Regions from separate parts of the Homo sapiens genome. Here region 1 is linked to region 2. The links are contacts of gene promoters, found by promoter capture Hi-C in blood cells and fetal thymus (Javierre and others, 2016). All regions are on one chromosome and are shown on one strand. The core of a region is centred on a gene start or on the middle of the fragment in contact, and the rest is flanking DNA. Distances in the headings are between cores, read along the strand shown.

Region 1 (6,290 bases), core at 174-2,673, 200 kb after region 2:
AATAGTAATAGAGTCTCGGAGTGAACGTGAGGATCAAATGTATAGCAACAAGTAATGCCTGTACGTAGTGGCACTCAATCCCAACAGAATGAGGCTGACCTCGTCAGGACAGGGTGTTTTGTGTTTTGCGGGGGTGCAGGAAGCAAGGATTACTATTCATGTTTTTAAAGGGTAAACTGAGACCCCAAAGATGAAATGACTTGCTCAAGGTAATGGAGCTGGTTAGTCGGGGCAGAGTGATAACTAAAATATAGATATTCTGGGCCAGGCCCCCGCCCCCGGCCCCAGCACCAACTCCTGACTCAGTTTTTCTATCACCTATACTCTTTAAAGCATTTTCCCCTGTGACCTTTGCTGCTGAGGTGAACCTAAGTGACCTCACTCCAGACAGACTAAGGAGGCAAGGAGCCAATTCAGAGAGTTCACTTCCCTGTGGTGACAAGCCCTGTGTGGGTCCTGGCCCGGCTGCCCCTTCTGAGTACCTGTGGGTAAGTCCTCACCTGAACAGTGAGGTGTTGGACTCTAGGGTCCGTCTGGACTTTAGCTGTCTTTAATATCACAGCCCTAAATAACATCCAGGACACAGGGCCCACCTGCCATCATCTCAGCAGCTTCCTAGGCATGTCTCAACTCCTGGCAGCACTCCAACAGCTGAGATGTTGGCAAGCTCAGAGCGCTGGCAGAGCAGTGAGGCTGAGGGCGGCACCCCCATGCTGAGGGGAAAGAGGTGGGGGATGGTAGTCGAGCCTTTGAGCTTCAGGGCCTGGGCACAAATGGAGACCCAGGAGGACTGCCTGGTCAGACAGCATGTGTACTCCAGGGGAGATTAAGGTCCCCCATCCAGCACAAAATAAGTAAAACCATCTTTAGTCCACCAAGAAAGCCCAGAACCCAGGCCTTAAGGATCTAAGGGCCCCTTGGCATCTATGAGGAGACCCTCTCCCCAGCCCACCCCTGTGTACTTATTAGGTATAAGGTGTCAAGGCCTCCCTGTGGCAATGACATGTAGCCACTCATCCATCAATCTCTGAGCACCTGCTGTGGGCCAGGCCTGGTGCTAGGCGATGCAGAGGCCATGGGGAATAGAAGCAATCAGGCTCTCCAAGTTTACATTCTAGTTGGAGAGAGACACATTGGTCAAATGATCCCACGAACAAATGCTAAATTGCAAATGTGACAAGGGCTGTGAAGGCTGGGCACCCAGTGCTTGGAGAGCCCATAAGAAGGGGATCTGAACAAGTTGGGAGGCCAGGCAAGGCTTCCCAGAAGAAGGGGTCCTCAAGCTGACATTTGAAAGCTGATGAAAGCGAGGCCACAAGGGGAGGGAAGAACATTCGGGAAGAAGCATGGACAGAGGTCCTGAGATAGGACAGAGGATGGTGTGTAAAAGGGAATGGAAGGTGCCAGGGTGGCTGAAGCAGTGAGGACGAGGTGGGGGTGGCACAGGTAGGGCTGGGAGAGGAGAGAAGTTAGATCAAAGGCCTGTACAGATCCTGTCTTCACCCTAAGAAAGCACCTAACCCAAGAAGCCACCGAGGGGTTTAAAGAAGTGGGGACACAATCATGTGCATTTCCAAAAGAAATAAGTGGATTCAGCAGACCTTCGAGGAAGCGGCTTCTGGGGTCCAGGCTGGAGGGGACAGTGGCTTTGCTAAGGGGCTGGGTGGTGCCAATGGAGAGATCTTCGCAGGACAAACCAAGGAGACCTTCGGGATGGACTGGAGATGGGAGATGCTGGAGAGGGAGAGGCCGAGGTGAGGGCCATGTCTCTGGCCTGCATACCTGAGCAGGTGGAGATGGGGACAGTGGGAGAGGAACAGGTTGATGGTGTTGGGCAGGGAGGATCAGGACATTAGTTCTACAAAGGTTGAGCTGAATGTGTCTTTAAGACATCTAAAATGAAATGCCAAGTGGTCCGCTGGACAGATGAGCCTGGAGCCAGAGAGAGACAAGCTGGAGATAGACTTTCTGAGTAGCAGGTGTGCTGGCAGGAGCTGAGGCTGTGGCTGTAGTTACAGAGGGATAAGAAGCAAAAGCCTGCTCCTATCTCCAACACTGAATGCAGGGAAGAGGGAGAGTCTCCTGAAAGGGAGTCAGAGAAGGAGAAGCAGCAGAGGCAAGAGGAAAACCCAGAGCCTGGAGGAGGAAGGGTCAGTGCTGCCAGTGAAAGACCCTGAGGGAGTCCACGCAGGAGGCCACAGGGGGCTTCAGAGGCTTCCTCGGAGTTGCTCCCTGGCAAGAAGCCAGGGGAAGTGAAGAAAAGAGAGAGGCAGAGGGGAGGAAATGGAGGCAATGTGGGTAAGCAGGTCCTCGGAGAAGCAAGCCTCGGATCAGGAGAAGGGCAGTATCCGGAGAAGGCTATGAAATCAACAAAGGGTTGCATTTTTATATGTTGTCTTGATTTCTTTTTTGTTTTTGTTTTCAATGGAGTGTCTTGAAAAGCTGGAGGGTAGGGATCGGGATGGGGTGGGAAGCTGTCCTCCATAGGACCACCCTTGGGCTGCTCATTTGAGAGAGGAGGGAGGGAGGACAGGATGGGGCAGCTGCAGGCAGGTTTTATGGTCGGTTTCTGTCTCTGTCATCTGAGGGAGTTTCTTGGCAGCTTCTGTTTTCCCTGTAAAGCAGGAGGCAAAATCATCTGCTGGGGATGAGTATGCCGGAAGGAAGGTCAGAGGGTGTGAAGGATTGGAAGGGTTTAAAATAGCCACAGCGGAGCATGGGAGAGCCAGGTGACCAGAGAAACAGGGCAGGGCTGTCCTGTACTGCTGGGGGCCCACCCCCTTGCATAGGCGGATGTCTGGTTTTTAAAGTAAGATGAAATGTTACCTTCTTTACAAATGTAATACAGGCCCACGGTTCCTTATCTAAAAGCCCTGGGGGCTGACTGGTTTTGGAATACAAGCTTTTGTTTCTAATTTAATTTTAGAAAGGTAATGTGATGCATATGCTACTTAATTACATATCACCCCCAGCAGGGTCTGGGGCAGCACCCTGTAATCAAACACGTTAGTATTTCTGCAGCAAAATATGAATATTCACACCAAGTGAATCAATAAAGACTATAAATAGCCTCACATCTGTGCAGGTCATTTTGCTTCCAAGTGAGTTCTGGAGGATCAAAACCAAACCAAACCAATTTTTGTTTTTCATGGCTATTTGGATTTTGGTATTGTGGATAAGGAAATGGGGGCCTGTACTGTGCCTAGTAGAAATCTGGAGAATAGAAAAGGAGAAGAAAACAATCATAGTTCCACTGGGAAAGGACTTGTGTTAATTCCCATCTCTTGGGTGAGTTTTTGAAAAATAATTTTTCAAGAATGCTCCAGAAATGGGCATAAGGGTGACTTATGCCTGGAAGGCATGCTGGCTGGCCTCCTCTGGTATTCGCAAATGTCAATCACAACAGCCCTACCACAATCTGCTGGAGCCTGGGCGCTTCTCCTAGGCTAGAAACCAGCACCTCATGGGAGGGCTCTGAGCAGTTTGGTGAGTTCTAACTAGGAAGAATTATGAAATTTTCTAAAAGAAGGTATGTTGAGATTATTAAATCAAGTTTAGCCTAAAGCTGCCTCCTTAGATATTTTAAGTTTGGCCTAAAGGTTTCTCTGTACATCATGAACTGTAAGAAGTGGAGGTGTAAACAGACTGTAGCCTACCCTTGTGCCAATCACTGAGTTTTGGCCAATCAAATGTGGTCAACTGCTCGAACCAACTTCAAATAAGGCAAACACCAAGCTGTGACCAATCCAGCTGTTTCTGCACCTCACTTCCATCTTCCGTAAGTCACTTTCCTTTTTCTGTCCATAAATCTTCTTCCATCACATGACTGCACTGGAGTCTCTGAACCTACTCTGGCTCGGAAGGCTGCCCGATTCGCGAATTGTTCTGCCTGATTAGCGAATTGTTCTGCCTGATTAGCGAATTGTTCATTGCTCAATTAAACTTTTACATTTAATCTAGCTGAAGTGGTTTTTTGTTTTTGTTTTTGTTTTTTTTTAACAAGATGAACACAGCTCTGGTCACGTCGCTTGCATGCTGAAAAATATCTGATGGTTCCCCACTGTCTTCTAGAAAATCTTTTTCCATTCCTTTATGTTCTGAACATTCTACATGCAGGTAACTTACTCCTCTTCAAAAGCACACCTCTGGCCTTTGCCTAGGCTGTAATTTTTTCCTGAAATTCCCTTCCTCCTACTCACTTTCTGGTAAACTCCTACAAATTTCTCAAAACCCACCATGAATATCATTTCTTCTTTAAAGTTTTTCCTAATTGCCTCTGGTCCTTGAGCTCTCACAGCTCTTGTCAATACCCACGTCACAGGTTTATGTGTCTCGTCTTCCTTTCAACACTTTGTGCTTAGGGGTGGAGCCCATCTCCTCTCCTGTTTGTATGAACAGTGCTGGCACGTGTGAGAGAAGGAAAGAGTCGGGAGCGAGAGAGAGAGAGAGAGACTAGACAAAAGCTGACCTTTTTCTATGAGTTGTGAGCTGAGCAGGAGGGACCAGACAAGGGGCTACAAAGTTGTACCAGCCTTTTGGGCTAAGATGCTGTCTTCTAGAATAAGAGGACGATCTTAGGACTTCAAACTTCTACTTTCTAAAACATGGCTATTTTAATACTGGCTTCATTTTATTATCCTTTCCTCTTCTCTTTCCTTTTTTTTTTTTTTTGGTAATTATTTCCTTTTTTATCTATGTCAATCATTTTCACAAAAAGGTCCAGACTACCTGTGAGACCCAAATTCATACCATCATTAAGATTTCCATCACACCCTAAACCTAAAAGGTTTAGGATCAATAAAGATGTGAATAAATTCCTCAGCCTAGTCACACTTCAGGGTCAAATTTCATAAATGGAGGCAGCCACTCCTGGGAGGATACCACAATCCCAAACTGCAGATCAGAGCTGGCCCTATATAGCTTGGAGATTTCTTGGAGGATGGAATATTCAACAACTTTGGATAGAAAAAAAATTTGTTTGTTAAGATTGCTCTTTTTCCACTAAAAAATTATGGAATATTTATTATAAAATGTACAAAGGCAGAGAAGATAGTGTAATGAATACCTATCACCCACATACGTATCACCCAGCAAATTGATGGAACCAAATCTGATGTTGATAGGGCCCAGGAAAGCATCTGAGGGTGAACTTGACCTTTGAGGAGAAAAGTGCCTGGTGCAGGTGGTCCCTGGGCACCCTCCCTTCCAGCCTGCAGCTCAGAGGGGTACTCTTGCTGATGGAGATGACCACAGATGCCCAGTGCTAATCTGGGGGTAAATTGAGCCTGGCACCTTCAGTACAGAATGCTTATTGTTCCTTGCATTTAAAGGGGCTCTTTCCAGGATTCCTGGGTGATGGTGCATGATTCTAACAAGCAACAACAGAGGATGAACCCCCGGCCAGATTCAGAAAACCCCACGCCCCTTCCAGGCATCAGGATGTGACTGCAAGAGGAGGATGGGCAATGGGCTTTTCCCTCAGAAAAGGCGGCTCGCCCCCTCCTCGGGGTGTCTGCTCTAAAACAGAGGAACAGCTTCCTGCCAATTCTTCAGCATGATGGCTGAACTACTTCCTCACTCAGGGAAACAAAGTGTATCAAGGCGTTTGACTCGTGGGCATGATGATGCTTTTGAGCCCACAAGCAGCTGCTGAGCCCTAGCCTGAGCGCATGCGTGACAGGAGCACACACCTTGCTTCTCAGCACTGCTGTGCACCTGCTGGTGTGGAGCCAGCCGGGGCCACGAAGCACCAGATGGCACTGGAGCACTGGGCTCCCGCTGCCCAAGAACAGTGTCACCTTCACAAGGGACGAGGATAATAATAGCTAACATTTACCACATGCTCTCCACTTGCCAGGAGCAGTCCTAAGCACTTTCCCGACAACCCCATTGGGGAGGTGCCACTGTCCACCCCATCTTGCCATTGCGGAAACTGAGACCCTCAGGGCAAAGGAACTTGCCCAACAACTGCTGAGTGATGAGGTAGAGTCTGAACCAGATCGTCTGGCTCCAGAGCCCACGCTCTGGTAATGAGGCTGGGCCACCTTCATCATCCTGCTGAGAAGCCCTCTCTCTAACTGTGGGAGTCAAGAAGCTCCACCCCTAACCTCCACCCCTGGGCCTTCAGAACTTGCAGAGAACCCACTTCTCTTCTCTAGGAGTTGATGCACACCCCGATCCCTCAGTCTCCTTTTCCTCATCCCTGTATCCTGTAACACCTGGTTCTTCTTCTCCAGATGTACCCATGATGTCAGTTTCCGGTGTACCCCCCTGTGATATTTTATGCGTAT
Region 2 (6,618 bases), core at 799-3,298:
ACATATGTTTGAAGTTCATCTCTGATTACTTTGCTGTCCTCTTGGCCTCTATGAATGACTTGCTGTTCTGCCGCATTTCAAATCTGACCCCAGGCATTAGCATCAGAGTTCTCTATCAATATAAAGCCTATTATAAGACAAAGATGAATAGGAATATATACACACATATATAATGTATTGTTTACATAGGTTAGGCACAATGATTCACTATTATCATTTAAGGAATGGTAGGAACCCTCCTGAAATCTAACTTCCCAGTTGTATATGTTCCTATATGTATATGTGTGTATATATATATTCCTCTGTGTGTGTGTGTGTAAGAAAAATATATATATAGCCTAGCATCATTTCATCCTGTGATTAGAATTATGGATAGCTGGCTCCTTACAGTGGTTTATGCCTGTAATCCTAATACTTTGGGAGGTCAGGATGGGAGGATCGCTTGAGCCCAGGACATTGCAAACAGCCTGGGCAACAGAGTGAAACCCCCATCTCTTAAAAAAAAAAAAAATTAATTAGCTGAGCATGGTGGTGCATGCCTGTAGTCCCAGCTACTCAGGAGGCTGAGGTAGGAGGATTGCTTGAGCTGGGGAGGTCAAGGCTGCAGTAAACCATGATTATGCCACTGACTCCAGCCTGGGCAATAGAGCAGGCCCTGTCTCAAGAAAAAAAGAAATCATAGATAGCCCTGCTTTAAAAGAGCAACAAGCGTGCCACCAAAAAAATAAATAAATCAGTCTTGTTTACTAAAAAATGTTTTCAGGCTGGCCACGGTGGCTTACGTCTGTAATCCCAGCACTTTGGCAGGCTAAGGCAGGCGGATTGCCTGAGCTCAGGAGTTTGAGACCAGCCCGGGCAACACGGTGAAACCCCGTTTCTACTAAAATACAAAAAATTAGCTGGGCGTGGTGGTATGCGCCTGTAGTACCAGGTACTTGGGAGACTGAGGCAGGAGAATCACTTGAACACGGGAGGCAGAGGTTGCAGTGAACCGAAATTGCACCACTGCACTCCAGCCTGGGCGACAGAGTGAGACTCTGTCTCAAAAAAAAAAAAGTTGTCTAGAGTGTATTCATAATTACAAACAGCTCTCTGAAAAGCATTTATTTGCCTTCTCTCTTTGGGTTTTCTCCTTCTGTTGAATGTTTATTTGATCCTTGCCACCAGCATCATGTAACTGCATAATCCTTCCATGCTTACACTTACAGGGCACCCTCCCAAACCACTAAGCTGTCCTTCTGCAAGCACTTTAATCAAAAAGTATTATAGAGTTTGATTTTAAGAATCTGAGAAGCCTCTTGCTTCTTAAAAAGGAACATGCATAAATATGTGCAGATTTTCCAGATAAAACTAAAAACACATCCTTTCGTCTAAAATATACTCTGGTTTAAAATCTGGAATATTGGTGTGGGAGACGAAAGACAATTTCCCATTTGACTTGTTTGTTTTGTTTTGTTTTATGTGGAGGGTAGAGGGAGGAAATGGGAAGAGAAAGTTGAATTATCCCAGTAATTTTCTAGGGGTCTCAGCCTTAACCATTTCCAAAATATAATAAAAAAAATCTCATTAAAATTACTACGAGCATACGTCTTTTGCAGGAGGTGGTTGAGGTAATCAGATCTCAAAAATGCAATTAAAATGGGGTCTGAAACCCCAAATTAGTAACCAGAATCTTTAGTCAATATACAAAAGGCCACACGAATGGGTTGAGCTTACTGAAGATTTCTGTTTGTGGCCCAGGAAATGCCTCTCTCACCACCCATCCAGGAGTTTTATATTCTCCTGTAAAATAAGCATGTTGTGAGAAGTTCCCTGAGGAAATTTGAAGACAAGTGTATGAGAGCTCTGGAGCCCCATCCCCCTGCCCTGAGCATAGTCGCCAAAAGGACTTTCCACTTAGTTTACTTCATGCTTGCTTTTGAGCCTGCGGCAAAAAATTCTACCTTCTGAGTGACTGTGGGTGGAGGGAGGGCCTGAGATGACATCAAATCACAGTCTTTCCTCCTCCCCTCAGGAAGTAAAGTCCACTAGCAGGAGGGCCTAAATCGTCTGAGCCCTCCTTGGCTCTTACAATGCTCACTTGTTTTCACAATGCAGCAAAATGAAATGCCTTAGAAAAAGAGTAACATTCCAGAAAACGGTGTAATTTATTTTTCTTCCTTAATTGCCCCATCTGTGGAGGATTTCTTTGCTGAACACCACATCAAAGGTAAGATGGGAATGGGACTGTGTGCTGGGTTGGTTTTCTAACAACGACTGGCATCTCTCCCCACCCAGCCTGCTCACCAGATGGCCATTCCGCATACCCTGCCAGCTGACTTTCCTTTCCAGTTAGAAACAGTCAGCCTTCGACCCGACAGGGGAAATAATGAGTACTGTTCCCCCTTCCTCAGAACATTTACATTTTCTTTTTGCTATCATTCTTTATATACACTTGTTTATTTTACGGAACCGATTGGGAGAAGGTAGCATAGTGTCATGTTACTCCTGAATACTTTAGCATGTATCTCCTAAGAATATTCTCTTGTGGAAGAGGTTCCAAGAGGTTAACCTTGGTACAGTATTCTGTATTATACAGTCCATATTCAAATTTCCCCAACTGTCCCCACAAACTGTCTTTTACAACTTTTTTTTCTGATCTAGGATATATTCAATAAGCGGGTATCGCATTTCGTTGTCATGTCTGTTTAGCTCCAAAAATATTTACATTTAGCAAGTGTTTTCTAAGGAGAATTCCTAAACTCAAGGCTCGCCTTCCCTTTCTATTTCTCTTAAGAGTTCACCCGGAGGACCAGCAGGGTGACGCACAGCTTCTCCAAGAAACTGGCTTGCAGACCTGGGGGGAGGGACACTGAGTACAGTTCTAGGAGTGGCCACCCCACAGTCACTGAGATCAGGCTTTCCAGGTAACTAAGTCCTTAGTTGCATCAGGCAGACTTCATCTGTAACTGAGGGGTTAAAAAAAAATTACAAGTGGTTTTATATCATAGGGAAAGAGGTTTTTTTTCTGTTTTGTATTACATTTCAACTTTTATTTTAGATTCAGGGGGTACATGTGTAGGTTTGTTACAAAGGCATATTGTCTGATGCTGAGATTTGGAGTATAATTGAACCCCTCACCCAGATAGTGAGCACAGCATCCAATAGGGAGTTTTTCAACCCTCCTCCCTCCCTATCTTGTAGTCCCCAGTGTCTGTGGTTCCCCTCTTTATGTCCATATGTACCCAATTTTTAGCTCCCACTTATAAGTGAGAACATGCAGTATTTGGTTGTTTCTGCATCAATTTGCTCAAGATAATGGTCCAGCTGCATCCATATTGCTGGAAAGGATATGATTTTGTTCTTTTTTATGGTGGCTGTGTAGTATTCCATGGTGTCTATGTATCACATTTTCTTTATCCAACCCACTGTTGATGAGCACGTAGGTTGATTCCATGTCTTTGCTATTGTGAATAATGCTGCAGTGAACATAAAAGTGCATGTGGCTTTTTGGTAGAACAATTTATCTTCCTTTGGGTATATACCCAGGAATGGGATTACTGGGTCAAATGGTAGTTCAATTTTTGGTTCTTTCAGAAATCTCCAAACTGCGTTGCACAGTGGCTGAACTAATTTGCATTCCCACCAACAATGTATGAACGTTCCCTTTCAGATAAAAAGTTTAAAAGTTTAGATTAGTTTCTGGTCCACTGAATCAACTGTCTTGGATTTATCACAGGGATCTTCTGCATTTAAAATAGAAGAGGCATCATGCTGAAGAGGGAGGGGAAGGTCCAACCTTACACTAAAACCCTGGATGGAGGATGGGGATGGATGATTGTGATTCATTTTTTCCTGGTAAGAATTCACTTTTTTCCCCCTTTCCTATTGCCTAAAAGCAGGCTTTCTGGAGAAAGGCTCAGAGCTGCCTACGAATAGGATCACTTAGGAAATCTTTGGCATCTGAGTGGAGGGGTGGGCAGGAACAAGGCCAGGAGCTGCCAAAAACTGCTAAAGTCAGAGGCCCATGCCGAACCCAGGAGAAAGTTGAAAATGCCCCTAGAGCAAAAGCAGAAATGTTCCTGGGCTGGGTGTGGGGGCTCACACCTATAATCCCAGCACTTTGGGAGGCCTAGGTGTGTGGATCACTTGAAGTCAGGAGTTCGAGACCAGCCTAGCTAACATGGTGAAACCCGATCACTACAAAAATACAAAAATTAGCTGAGTGCAGTGGCATGCACCTGTAGTCCCAGCTACTTGGGAGGCTGAGGCAGGAGAATTGCTTGAAATCAGGAGGTGGAGACTGAAGTGAGCCAAGATCGTGCCACTGCACTGCAGCCTAGGCAACCATGAGAGACTCTCTCAAAACAAACAAACAGAAGTGTTCCTGAATCCAGTCATCTACTCTTCCTATCATCTCTTAAACCTGAGAATGCTCAGTCACAATCAGCAGTTCTGTACTGGCTGCATGGCAATTAGGGTTTGGGGACAATCATACTTTTAACCATCCCAAAAGTAGCACTGGGAGGTGCTAAAAAGTGCTCTGGGGGTGATCTCCCCAGTTCAGCCCAGCATAGATAGAACACTGTGGGCACAGCCCCTTCTACCGATAAGGGGTGGGGACATTTCCTCTGTTTGGCCTGCTGTCTACTTCCCAATCCATCCCCACTAACTATAGTTTATGCTATCTATATTTCCGATGTGTTTGGAAAGGGAGGACAAGGATTTTGAAGGGGGAGCCTGATTCTTCTCCTTTACCCATAAGCAACTAGACGAGGCATTCCATTTTTTAAATTAACTTCTTTCCCTCACCCTCCCAGGGGTTGAGGTGTGAGAGTGGTGATCTGCATCATCAGCATGCCCATTCCAGAATGTTGGTGAACCCCAGCTATGCCCCACACAGCTCTCCAGAGAGTGGCACCAGCTGCACAATTCTTAAGTGTTTCCAGAGTTCTATTAACTTTGAGATGCACTCAAAAAAAAACACCCTTTTCTTGCCGACACTTCCCCCCTACTCAGCCCTACAGTAAGCAGCTCACGGGGAAAGGTAGCACAGGTCTTGGTGCCTTCTAATAATCCTATAGTTCACATGCAGATATCTAAGAATTCTACAAATAGGATGGTGGGAAAACATCAGGCCTCCTCCCTCGTGCTAGACAAGATAGGGGCAGAGGTCCCCAGCCAGGATTTATGTAATACAAAACTCTTAACACATAATAGTAGTACTTGCTAAACATTAGCTTCAGTACTAAACAATCTCATTTTCCCCCTAGAAATGTTACTAATAGGGAAACTAAAGGATGCCCTAAGTCTGAGAGCCCTTCCTGGGGCTGGGCCACCCCCCTAAATCATAGGCTTTGCAGAATAGGCACTGTTGGTGAGGATCTCTAATTCTCCTGCCTTTCTCCCCAGTAACCACCCTGACTTTTTCTACATTATCCTCTGAGGATAGAATGGTTTTTGATCAATTTAGTTGCTGATAGGAAAAACCATCTAATAACCAGATTAATAAACACTGTCCCACTTTTAGGGTGTGATACTGCTTACTAAGCACAAAAAATGCACTGGATCCTCAAAATGTTAACAATAAATTCAGGGGCTAATCCCCCACAGTTGTAATGTGGATACTTGAATGACTGTGCTTTTGTTTCTGTATGACTTACAACTGTTCTTTTCTATAACAGATGAGCTCCTAGTAAGTGAAAAATAACAATGTTCTTTGGGAGCTTCCTACTTAAAAAAAGAGAGAGAGATTCATTCTAACCAACTTACCACACTTTATATATTTGTATGACTGTTTTCTGTATTCAGTCTGTCTTACTAGACTGAATGTTCCATGGGGGCAGGGTCTATGTCTGCATTGCTCATGAGTATATGCTCATTACCGTAAGCCCAGTGCCAGTATACAGCCTGGAACATAGTAGGCACTCAGTAAAATACTGTTGGTGGATGGATAGATGGATGGATGAATTGATAGCTGCACACATTTATGAATAAACAAATAAGGATGAAGGGGATAGTTGATGAAACTGAAGAGATGAGAATGGCTCTTGAGGCTATGAGAAGCTAATGAGAAAAATTAAGCAGGGATGTGATAGATTTGCATTTCAGAGAAATGTGACGAGCAGATGCTACTGAGAGGTCAAATAGGAGAGAAATAACAAGACTCTATTGGTTTAGCAACAAAGAAATCTAATAACCTTGATAAGAGCTAGTACAGTGGAGCAGTGGGGGCCAAAGTTAGTGAACTTTAGTTTTCAGTGGAGTAGCAGAATGACAGAAAGTGGAGATACCTAATAGACCATTTTTTACAGAAGTTTGCCTGTGAAGGTCAGGAGGAGCTAGGGTGATACTAGAAAAGGACGCAGGATAAGAAGTTGTTATTAGATAAAACTAACTCTGACAAAGCCTGGTGCCTGTATTGAAAATAAGTCACTGAGGCTGATCCAACTCCTTTCCCAGACAATAATTAAAATGATCTAGTGAGGAAGCTCTTATTGGAGGTGGGGTGTGGGGGAAGTCCTGCTTAAGGTGTTCCTGCCAGGTTCAACCCAATTAACTGCTCTTAAAAACAAAAAGAAAATGAGGGGACTGGAGAAGTTCTAGGGTTTTTGCTTTATTTTGGAGTGAGCCATTTAC

Evidence for each region. The method cuts DNA at HindIII sites, captures the fragments that hold promoters and counts their contacts. A CHiCAGO score of 5 or more calls a contact.
Region 1: a contact is called between a fragment that was not itself captured here and the fragment with the promoter of SLC16A4 in region 2, in 3 of 17 cell types (M0 macrophages, M1 macrophages and M2 macrophages). The highest score is 6.8, in M0 macrophages.

Annotation. Positions count from the first base shown.
Region 1 is chr1:110,184,827-110,191,116 of GRCh38, reverse strand. All of the region lies in intron 6 of SLC6A17 (solute carrier family 6 member 17), which reads right to left. Among named protein-coding and RNA genes, the nearest start is that of SLC6A17-AS1, 19 kb to the right of the region's middle. The HindIII fragment of the contact is 2,962 bases long and covers 1-2,904 here.
Region 2 is chr1:110,386,456-110,393,073 of GRCh38, reverse strand. SLC16A4 (solute carrier family 16 member 4) reads left to right here and starts at 2,048. Exons shown (of 9, transcript NM_004696.3): 1 at 2,048-2,209; 2 at 3,719-3,837. The coding sequence starts at 3,751. The HindIII fragment of the contact is 6,987 bases long and covers 1-6,618 here.